Linked DNA regions of Homo sapiens: all the other regions are linked to region 1. The links are contacts of gene promoters, found by promoter capture Hi-C in blood cells and fetal thymus (Javierre and others, 2016). All regions are on one chromosome and are shown on one strand. The core of a region is centred on a gene start or on the middle of the fragment in contact, and the rest is flanking DNA. Distances in the headings are between cores, read along the strand shown.

Region 1 (3,573 bases), core at 393-2,892:
CTATTACTACAGATGAAGCTCTGTACACTGGAGGAGGAGGACTCAGATATGTAACAACCGGTTTTTTTCTCTTTCTAGCCCAGAGTTTCTTACTATGATCTGGATTCGTGGGGAGGAAGGCTGGGTAGAGCTAGACTCATCATCTGCTTTGGTGTTCTTGGGAGCTTATCTCTTTTCCTGCCAGGTAGATAGTTTTTCCTTTCTTTCCTTCCCTTCACCTCCAGACCTCCCTCCTTCATTTTCTTTCCTTCTCTCTGTCTGTCTGTCTAAAATATAGTTGGGAAGAAAAAGGTATCAGCCATGGGAACCTCTGGTGCACAGGTGTAAGGAACAAAGAGCTTTTCTGCCTTAGAATTAATCAGTTATCTCCTACTCACTGTAGCTCAGAAGTTGATCTACCTTTTGATGTTAAAATGCTAAATCTCACGGAAGTTATAAAATTTTCTCTCTTCCCACCCCTAACAAGAAGGAAAAACAAGTCCTCAACAGACTTATATGCATGTAGTAACTTATTACACAGTTCCTAGGTGTGAAGCAAGTGTCTGACCCTCAGGAAGCTGCTCCCTCTGCAGTGCTCAGGTAAGAACCCATCACCATCGCCCACCTGCTCACCCTCCCTGCTTCCCACCCCAGGACACCACACCTCTCAGGAATTACATGAGATATGGTATAAAAAGTTTTTTTATTTCAAAATGCAAAATGGTGGTCATTGTAATAATTAATAATAATAACATAAAAAGCATTTATCCTTCCTCCCTAGTGCAAAATGGTAGACGCATTTAGATAATTCACACAGTGTTGGAAATGTCATGACAATGCAGTGCTGCACAGCAGCAAAACTCAATCCCAAACTCCTTTGGTGGATGCTTGTGGTAGGTCAGTTCTAGATGTCAGCGGTTTCTCTGAAGTTAAGTCCAAATAAAAAACAGCACGTGCTCCTGCACTCTCCCAGCGGAGTCAGGCTCCTGTGCGCGCGCCCCCTCTGTCTCTCCATTCCTCTCTCGGTCTGTCTCTGTCTACTGCGTCTCCCTCCCACTCCGCTGGTCTCCCACAGTTCCTAGGAGGCGTGCTGCCGGTTGGACAGGGCCCGGCCGCCGAGGACCGTGTCCTGCTGCTTGCCTTTCTCCTGCAGGGCTTGCTTCTGGAGAGCCTGTCGCTCCAGGGCGGCCTGCAGCTCCGCCACGGCTGCCTCCTGGTCCCGCAGACGTCTGGCGGCCGTGAAGGGGCTGCACACAGTCTCCATCAGGCCGAGCACCACGCCGAAGAGGGCCAGCACGCTGCCCAGCACGTACAGCTTCACCATCTTCCCCTTGCGCTTCTGGGCCATCATCTCCTTGGCCAGGGGGATCAGCTCCTGGACCGTTTCCATCTCGGCTCTGGGCTCTCGGAGGCGGGAATGACCTGCAGGAGGAGCAGCAGGAGAGGGGCTTCAGCCACCAAAGAACGGCTCCCACCACCCCGCACCCAGCTAATCTTGGGGAGGGCTCATAGAAAGGCGGACTACCTTAGTGGCACGGCGCGAGCAGGAGGCAGCGCGAGCTGCAGTTGGCAGCGGTCAGCGCGTCCGTTGGTCCGACCGACCTCAGCGTTCTCCTCCTCTCGGCAGCTGCAGCTCTCCCAGTTGGAGACTCCGCCGCTGGCACCGCTTTAGCGTCCGGGGGCCGCTTATATCTTTTCTCTGAGACACGCCTCCTGGGCTCTCCGGCCCAGGCCAGCGCGGTCAGAGCCAGGGGAACTCGGAGGGGGAGGAAGAAGAGGAGGGGAAAAGGAGGGGGTGGAACCCGGCTGGGACCTGGCAGGAGGTGGCCACGCGCTGAGCACGCTCCGACTGTGTGAGCTAGGGGGCCCGGCGCGGGTGCCATCGCAGCGGGGCGCGTGGGAAGGCCAGTGTGCACGCGAAGGTCCCACTCCAGGCGAGCGCAGGGGAGGACCCGGAGCCCAGGGAGGTGTCCGCGGACATCTCTGACATGGCGGCAACCTTCTTACTGGTGTCAGCGGGTGCACAGCTTCCCTTGTCCAGGACAGCCTGACATTATAAATAATGAGGGAATTTGGGGGTTCCATCTAAAGAAGAAAGCTTTCATTTTTATTCGGAAGGGTTGTCACCTTCCCACGTGTGTGGCAATGGATCAGAGAGGAGAAGGCAAGGGGGAAGGATCTGGGTAACAGGACAGAACAGGTTACGCTTGGATAAAGCAATATGTGCTAATATTGTTTCTTTCCTGCCTGGTTGGTTTTATTTAGAGGTACATGCATGTATAACTAGAGTCAGTTGATAGAAAACTATTCATTGATGGTGCTTTTATGCACAGAGGTGTGTGTGTGTGTGTGTGTGTGTGTGTGAGAGAGAGAGAGAGAGAGAGAGAGAGAGAGAAAGAGAGAGAGATTAGTCTCTTTGCCTGCGAGCTGTTTCCTTATGTACTTCCGTGTATCAGGGAAGAGCCTTCAAATTCAAATTGTTCTCACTTCCACTTGAGAAGTGGAGTTGGGAGCTTGGGGGTAGGGGGTCAAGTATGGAAGGGGCTGTTGGTAGAAGTTCATCTGCCATTTTAGAATGGAAGTATTTCATGCTCTCCTCAATAATTCTCTGCCACCCTCCTGGGTTTGGGGGTACAACTTCACTGCTCCAGCTCAACTTCAGCTTTGAAGCAGTTTGTGGGCAGAAGGGCGTGTAGTAGACAGCTTAGGTAAGAATCCAGAGTGTGAGTACTCTTGGACGTGTGAAGATGTAGGATTGATTTTGACCAGGGTTAGCTGTAATCACCTGGGGCTGAGGGAGCGTTCTAGTTTGGCTTTGGTTATGGATATGCTAGAGTTAGCAAACTTGGGGAAAAAGAGAGGCAAATTGGCCAAAGGGTTAGCAAACTTGGGGAAAAGGAGAGGCAAATTGGCCAAAGGCCTTTAAGCAGAGAAAGGGAGGGGGCAGGGGAAAGAAGGGGAAATCAAACTGGCCAGAAAATTGCAAAGGTCAGTGATGCAATCTTGCAACAGCCTTTGCAGTCGGTCGGACTGAGCCCTGAAGGGCGGGTCGGGGGAAAAGGCTGTCTCAGGGATCAAATATTTTAGTTTTTGAATTGTTAACAGTAATCTTTCTTTGGGGGTCTGAAGCAATTTCTCAGATGATTCAGTTTAAAAAGGCAGCAATAACAACTACCCTTTGCCTTGACTATTAATAGTTCAGGCAAGGGCTTGTGTGTGGAGAATGGTCAAGGTTATCTAAATAGCTTATTTGAAATTCTATGTTTTAGAATTTAGTCTGAGTGAAGGTGACCAGGGGCCAAATAGAATTGATTATTCCTGGAGGACTGTGTTTCCTGCTTATTGTTCTTTTAACCTTGTCAGGCAGGAAAATTCTGTAACAAGGGTTCCTGCCAAGTTTAATATCAGTCTTGGCATTTTCTTTGAATCTTCCTTATAGTTTCAGAGCAACCTCTGATAACTGGCAGAAATGATTAGTGAGCTTTCCCAATATCTGTGAGGGTTCCAAACCCATTGACTTCTGGAAGAGCATGTGATGTGTGCCCTGATATAAGGGCTGTCACGTGGTTTCCATTCTGAAGGTGAGTCAGCCTA
Region 2 (3,573 bases), core at 557-3,056, 280 kb after region 1:
CCAGACACTCCATAGGGCAAGTTTGTCACTATAAACTTATTTAACCTCTGCTGGAACACTGTGAGGGAAGTATTGTTATCCCCAGGTTATAGACAGCAAAACTGAGACTCAGGGAAGTTGAGTGGCAATGTCCAGCTAGTAAGCATCTGGACTGCATAATCATCCCAGTCTCCTGACTTTCTGTTAGGGACTCATTCCACAACTGAGAATGTGATCTATTTGGGCTGGGGCAAAACAGCAGGACACTGACTGGAAGGGAAAAACAGCGGGACACTGACTGGGAGAGTGTCCCGCAAAACAGCAGGACACTCTCCTTGGAATGGACCCATGAGGCAGGAGGAGATGCATTGGTGCAAAGGTGTGAGGGTTTAGAGGTCTCTAGATAGGATGTGGAGGTGAGGAAAGGCCTGAGCTGACTCTGTGGTGCAAAGAGGTGGCAGCCAGGCCTGCTGGGTGCCGAGACTGCCTCATTCCATTCTGGGAGACTAAGTAGAGAAGCCTGGAGGCTTCTTCCCTTCCATTTGGAGTTTGGAGAAAACTCAGAGTAAACAGGCACATAAAACCCACCTGAACTTGTCATTATAAGCCCATAAAAGATTAAGAAACAGTTGAAGGATGGGGAAGAGAGAAATCAAGGGATTCTTGGTGTAGTCAGCTTGTTTACCACCGGCTCCTTATTTATTAGTGTCGTGTCTTCCATTTGTCAGGCTATAACGATAGTAGCTTTTATGAGTAAGCAATTTTTTAATGAACTTGTTTCAAATGCGTATTCCATTCTTGGAACTCTCTGTGCTCTGAAGCAGCTTTATAATTATTGCCTTCGGTGGAATAGCCAGGCTCTATCTGGCTTTTATGTAAGCAATTTCACTCGGTTTGCCTCTTCCTCTTTCAGCTTCAAATGAGTCAGATGAAGGGGTGGAAATATACAATAATAATAGCTTTTTAAAAGAGTGCTTATTATATGTTAGGCATTGTCCTAGATGTTATGCATTTATCTTTTTATTTTATCCTGACATTCCCCAGGACTGATGTATTTTACAGCCCCCATTTTACAGATGAGGAAACTGTGGCTCAGAGAAGTTGAATAGTGTCTAAAGTTCCTCAGTTAGTGAGTGGTGGGGACAGGATCTGAACACAGGTCTGTCTGGCCACACAGCCTGTACTCTGATACCTCTGCTGTATAGAGTGGACTGGAAGGGCTGTTCGTGCCAGTGTATTCCAGGTCAAACTGGGAGTGGGAAGAGGAGCTCAGGACACTCATTAGTGGTGTGAAGTCATTTGCCATGTTGGCCCATGCAAGAGATGCTGTAATTAAGTGCTGATGGCTCAGTAATTATAGATAATTTTCTGGTCTTTTGCTTTCATAAAGAGAAATAGGAAAGTTTAGAGAGCTCCCTAAACTTGTTGCTGCCCACAGTAATGCTACCTCCTGTCTCAGCCAGTGACTGTGCCATTTATCCAAAAGCTCAAAATTGTTTCATATGGTAAATTGGCCTCATCTTTGCGACATGGACTGTTACCATCCTATTCAAAACCCTGATTCCTTCCCAACTGGATTGAGGCTGCTTCTGAGTCCCTGCTTCCAGGACTGTCCCCTTTCTCTCCATCCTGCATGCTGTTCACAAGTACACAGGGCCAACATGCTCTTCTATCAGACCCATCTGCTACTGGAGCAATGCAGGCCACAGAGTGGCTGAGACCAGCTCTGGAGTCAGTTGCAAGCTCAGATTTCCACTTCTGTACTTGCTCACTGTATGACTTTGGGCCAGTTATGTAACCTCTTTGAGCCTCAGTTTCTTCATCAGTAAAATGGGAATAATAATTAGAAGAATGTCTATTAGATAGGGTTATTGTGAGGGTTAAATAAAATGGTGCATGTAAAAATGATTGGCTCAATAAATTCTAGCTATTGTTATTCTCTCAGCTCCTATCTGAACTCTTCAGTTAAGAATTGGGAGCCACTATCAACTGGCTCCTAGTACCTCGCCTAATTGTAACTGATATTCAGGGTGTACCAATAGTTAGGCTGTCTTGAGGACTCTGTCTCTTCATGCATTGCCATTTGCAATATCTTCTTATGGAGTAAGCGTGTAAATTAGCAAAGTTTGTTTTGGAGAAGGCTCCTCTATCTCCCATTCCTCATTTATTTTCCTTGGTGCACTGGCTCTCTTCTTGCACTGGTTGCCCTCCTGCTGACCCCTGGCCCCTCAAAGTTCCCCAAGGAACACCCAGGCACCCAGGCCCTTACCTCTTAATTAAGACAGAGCCAGGTCCTATACAGAGATGGGGATGTTTGCTTGGTTTTGACCCAGGAGTGGGTTTGTTTTTCTCTAATTAGTTGGAAAATCGAACTTGATCTGTGAAGAAGGCAGATTTACAACTTGAGTGGGTATATGACTGCCTGAGCTTTGTTGTAATAAAAGGTAAAATCACTCCTGTGGGGGATTGGGTGGGCATCGAGCTGGTTTCTAATGGCTGTTCTCATTTTCAGGTCCTGAGTGAAACCATCCAGAATGATCAAATAGTCCCTCCTAGTGAATAAGTTTGGGGAGCTGGAGAGGAAGATGATTGAAGTGTTTGCTTTTTCTTTCCTTTCACTGAGACATGATGATATTCCTCTATACACAGAAACTTGAACTATTTTGGCTAATTTTCAATGAAAGGTCACGTAGATGACATATCCTCAGGACAGATGGCTGCCAGTGTGGCCTCCACCCCACCCATGGGGAAAGATTATTTCTCTCCACCTTGTTTTCCAGCTTTCCTTTTGCTGCTGTTGATTTACTTTTGTTCTGTTTTGCTGCGCCATTCTCTCTGCTTCCCTTCTGCTCTCTGTGTCTTGCTACCTACTTATATATTTTCCTGTGTCTTTTCCTCACTCTTTCTTCCTCTCTTTCTCTTCCCTCCACATCCTCTTTGCCACTGCATCTCTTTCTTGCCTTATTTGCCTCCCTTCCCCTCGGGATCTTATTTTTGGCACTCCTCTACTTCCTTCTCTCCCTCTGATTCTGGTTCATAATAGCTTGAAAGAGCGTTTGATAACGTTTGCCTGACCCTGCCTGACACTGGGTGAGTGATTCTCCTCGGGCTGTGTTTGCTGTGGTCTGTGTGTGATTGATGAAAGCCGCTCAATTTGCTCTTCAAAGCTCTGTTTATGGAGAGCTTGGATGCATCTCCTCCGGATTTTACTTTTTTTTTTTTTTCCCTCCAGAAACAAGTCCGAATTATAGGATAAAACTGGAACACTTCCCATTTGTTCATCATCTTCACAGACCCCTTAAGGCTTTCAATAGAAGGACCAGATTGTACATGTCCACCTTTTAAAAAACTGTTCTTCTTCCTAGAGTCCTCATGTCAGAGATTTTAACCCACAAAAGAAGTTATTTGGGTGACCTTTAATTTGAATATGACCACTTTCAGCCCTAAAGAAGACATTTAGATTTGGACTCTGGGTACTAAAATGGAAGAAAAATGCTAATGCTATTAATACTAGAATCTGAGTACCTGTGGTATCCTGGCTACTCAGTACGAGTTCATCATGAAATGAAAGAAGTAAAATCAAAAGAATTGTCT
Region 3 (3,573 bases), core at 489-2,988, 260 kb after region 1:
GGAGCTCAGTGCTGCTCCTGTTGCTAATATCCTAGCAGGATTCTTGGAGTTGCCTGATAGTTCAGGAAATTAGAAGGGCCCTGTGGAAATGCAGAGACAGTTTGGAATTGGGCTGGGCTTGATTGGATCAGTCATGGTTCTGCAAGGAGGAGTCTGATCCCCAGCCAGTCATGCTCTCACTTGACTCCTGAAGATTGAATTCACGTTGCACCCTCTAGATGCTAATGACAGCACACTGGTTCCTCTGACCATGTGGACAGCCATCCCTGGCTTATTTCTTTCCTTCTGTCTTGCTCTACCCATCCTCTATGCTGCTGTGTGGCCTTCTTCATGTTTTCTTCCCCAGATGTCTCAGTCAAAGGTGGTCTTTTTTTTTTGCTATGACCTGTGTCTGTTACATTTGAAGCCCTCAGTTTAGCTTTTAATTATATGCTGTTTTGCAGTGTCCACTAATTGTTTCACATATATTAGTAACCTTTTCACAGTCTATCCAGATTGTAGAGTCCTTGGGTCAGGGGACCATGTCTTCTGTTTTCCTTAAATTGCTCTTGGCCCAATCTTGCTGGCCTCACAATCAGACTGCCTGATCTTTCATGGTCACAGGCTTTGTACTAGATATCCCCTTCACTGGGATTTTCCCCTGCCTCCACACACTTCCCCCAGCTCCTGCTTTGCTCCTGCTGGTGACAAATCCTCCTGTACAGCTGGGGCCCTGCAGCTGCCCCAGCATGCCGGCTGCAAATCAGCTTGAAGTAAACTGTCTGGAAGTACCCTGATGAGTCAATTGGGCCCCTCCTTGGAGACAAGGAATTCTGAGGTCTTGCAAGCACACACCTGCCCTCTGTGGAATAATTCCACAGCTGGCCCCAGTCCTGCCTCTGGGAACGTGTCTTACTTTTGCCTTGCTTCAGTAAGCTTATTCCCTCCTCCACTGGCTGCCCTGACTTGTCAGGTGGGGATGGCAGGGCAGTTGTGAAGAGCCAGCCCTCAGTAGGGAGAGGCAGGGCATCCACCTGCTGAGGACTGAGGTGTTGCTGGATTCTGGTGGGTTTACTTTGGTAAGCTTAAGGGAAAGAGGAGAAACCACGGAATTATGACATTTGAAATTTTCCCCCACAGAGAGCAAGAGTAGAGTGGGGAAAAGAGCCCAGGATTCTGATTTGGCTTGGCCACCAATTGGCTGTGTCACCTCATGTGACTCACCTGCCTTCTCTTATTCTTAAGCTCCTCTTCTGTAAAATGAGGCTGTTATATTAAAGTGGTAGCTTTCAAACTTATAAAAATAAAGGAACCCATTTATCAAATGAAATTTTATAAGGAATTCCATTTTCTAGAAAGAGAAAACAGCAATTCTGCTTAAAGTAAAGGTACAGGGGGACCCTTGGTTTCCTCCTTGTCTTTCAAGTGATCTCCTGAAATACCTTATCAGAACTTCCCAGGAAAACACAGTGTGAAAGGCACTGAGAAAGATGATCTCTATGGTCTCTCTAGCTTTGACAGTCTCCATCTTCTTGCTACTCAAAGTGTGGTCCTCAGCCAGCAGCAAGCATTTGGGAGCTTGTTAGGGATGCATCATATCAGACCCTACCTAAGACCCACTGAATCAGAATCAGCCTTTTCACAAGATCCCCAGGCAATTCATCCAAGTTTGAGAAGTACTGGTCTGTACAGTTCTGTGATCCAGAGAGCTAAGTGACAAGAAGACCACGGGAGCATCGTGACTTTCATCGTAGAATGTGGGCATGGTCAGTTGGTGTAGGAAGTGTGGACCACATCTCTTTCTTGCCTCGGTGCACTAGTTGTATCCCTGATGGGGAACCAGTCATGGTAAACAGGTTGGATTGTTCTTGGGCTTAGCCAGAGAGGGAAAAAGAGGGGAAATCACCTGACCCTGCAGAATGCATGTTAGTAAATGCTGGTGACACAGCATGTGACAGGGGGATTTGTGTTTCCAGCAGGAAAATGCTCACTACAGGTGCCTTATTAGCATGACTCTTCTAGGCATTTGTGCTTCCTAACGTATGTCTCCTCCCTCATCTCGCCGGATCCCTATTCTCTCTTCAGCACCTGGGATATGACAGCTGGCTTGGACTTAAAGACCTATATTTTGGTCCTAGCTCTGGAGGTTTCTAACATTGCTCTCTTGGGTTTCTCCACCTCTGCGGGCCTCAGTTTTTCTATGTGTAACACAGCATGGTAAACCCCACAGTGTGGTGGTGAGGAGGAACTGAAATATATGGAAGCTCTTTGTAAACTGTAAAGTGATAAAAACTCAAGGATACTTTTATATCAATTCTAATCTGTAAAAATACCCAGAGTTTAGCTTCAGCTGGGCTTACTAACAGTGCTAACCCCAAGATCTCAAATGCCCCTGTGAGGCTAACAGCTGGTTTCTTGTGTTAGCCTAAGCTTGTCCCCGGGGTCTGGATTCCTTCAAGGTTGGTGGCCCAGTTGGTGGTTCTTAAAGATCCCTCATCAGAACTTGATTATTGTAGGAAATTGGAAGGAAAGGGGAAAAGAAAAGAAGAATAGTTTTGCTGCTGTTTTGTCTCTGTACTTAGAAAATGCTAGCACACCCTTCCTAGTTTGACTTTTCTATTTGGCCAGAAGTTGGAATGAAATGGGTCTTGAGTCAACTGTGAAGATGAGCTTGCTATTTTTCTCTTTCATTAGTTAATGTTCTAAGTGGCCATTTCTGGGAAAACTCTTTCTGGTAATCTAAAAGTGTGTTTGTGCTGTGGGTGGAGATGTTTTGGGAAAATGTGTACATTTCTGATGCTTTTCTCTTGATAGAAGAATTTGAGTGTCATTGAAGAATAAGACCTTTAGGGTTCTGATTTCTCATTTCTTCTGTCCTTTTTGAAAACCTGAAATATTCCTCAGCCAAGAACAAATAAATTTTAGCCCCAAAATGTGGGCTTGATTTGCCATCTAAATGTCTGGGATTGAAGTAGGTTCATGTACTTGACAGGCAGCCTCAGCCCCACCCTGTTTGGTTGCACACTGTAACACCCCACCCGTTTTCCTTCTCTTTGCTCAGCCCAGCCCCTGCTATTTTATTCTACCTCCCTTGTTAATAACCTTTTTAAAGAAAGTACCTGCAGAGGATCTATGCCCTTGGAAAAAAATGTTCCCTTGAGGAACTCAGTGCTGGACTCAGGGAGAAGCACTTTGCTTATGGTGATGCTGCCACATGGACTCTCCATGTGGACTGAGACAGATCTAAAAAGCGTTAGGAAGGCCGGGCGCAGTGGCTCATGCCTGTAATCCCAGCACTTTGGGAGGCTGAGGCGGGGGGATCACTTCAGGTCAGGAGTTTGAGACCAGCCTGGCCAACATGGTGAAACCCCGTCTCTACTAAAAACACAAAAATTAGCCAGGCATGGTAGCTGCTGCCTGTAATCCTGGCTACTTGGGAGGCTGAGGCTGGAGAATCGCTTGAACCTGGAAGGCAGAGGTTGCAGTGAGCTGAGATCATGCCATTGCACTCCAGCCTGGGCAACAAGAGCGGAACTCTGTCTCAAAAAAAAAAAAAAAGAAAAAAAAAGTGTTAGGAAGGTATGAATGCTGTTG

The links. Contacts are between HindIII fragments. The CHiCAGO score rates a contact against its expected background, and 5 or more counts as called.
Region 2: a fragment that was not itself captured here is called in contact with the fragment with the promoter of G0S2 in region 1 in 1 of 17 cell types (monocytes); the score reaches 7.0 in monocytes.
Region 3: a contact is called between a fragment that was not itself captured here and the fragment with the promoter of G0S2 in region 1, in 1 of 17 cell types (monocytes). The highest score is 8.2, in monocytes.

The regions. Positions count from the first base shown.
Region 1 is chr1:209,673,481-209,677,053 of GRCh38, reverse strand. It overlaps G0S2 (G0/G1 switch 2), which reads right to left and starts at 1,642. Exons shown (of 2, transcript NM_015714.4): 1 at 1,505-1,642; 2 at 664-1,401. The coding sequence starts at 1,369. The coding sequence ends at 1,058. The region is part of intron 1 of HSD11B1-AS1 (HSD11B1 antisense RNA 1); the gene reads left to right. RefSeq lists an enhancer at 682-1,530. The HindIII fragment of the contact is 4,554 bases long and covers 1-2,079 here.
Region 2 is chr1:209,394,854-209,398,426 of GRCh38, reverse strand. No RefSeq gene overlaps it. Among named protein-coding and RNA genes, the nearest start is that of LINC01698, 25 kb to the right of the region's middle. RefSeq lists an enhancer at 854-1,736. The HindIII fragment of the contact is 5,635 bases long and covers 1-3,573 here.
Region 3 is chr1:209,413,460-209,417,032 of GRCh38, reverse strand. No RefSeq gene overlaps it. Among named protein-coding and RNA genes, the nearest start is that of MIR205HG, 14 kb to the left of the region's middle. The HindIII fragment of the contact is 1,346 bases long and covers 1,066-2,411 here.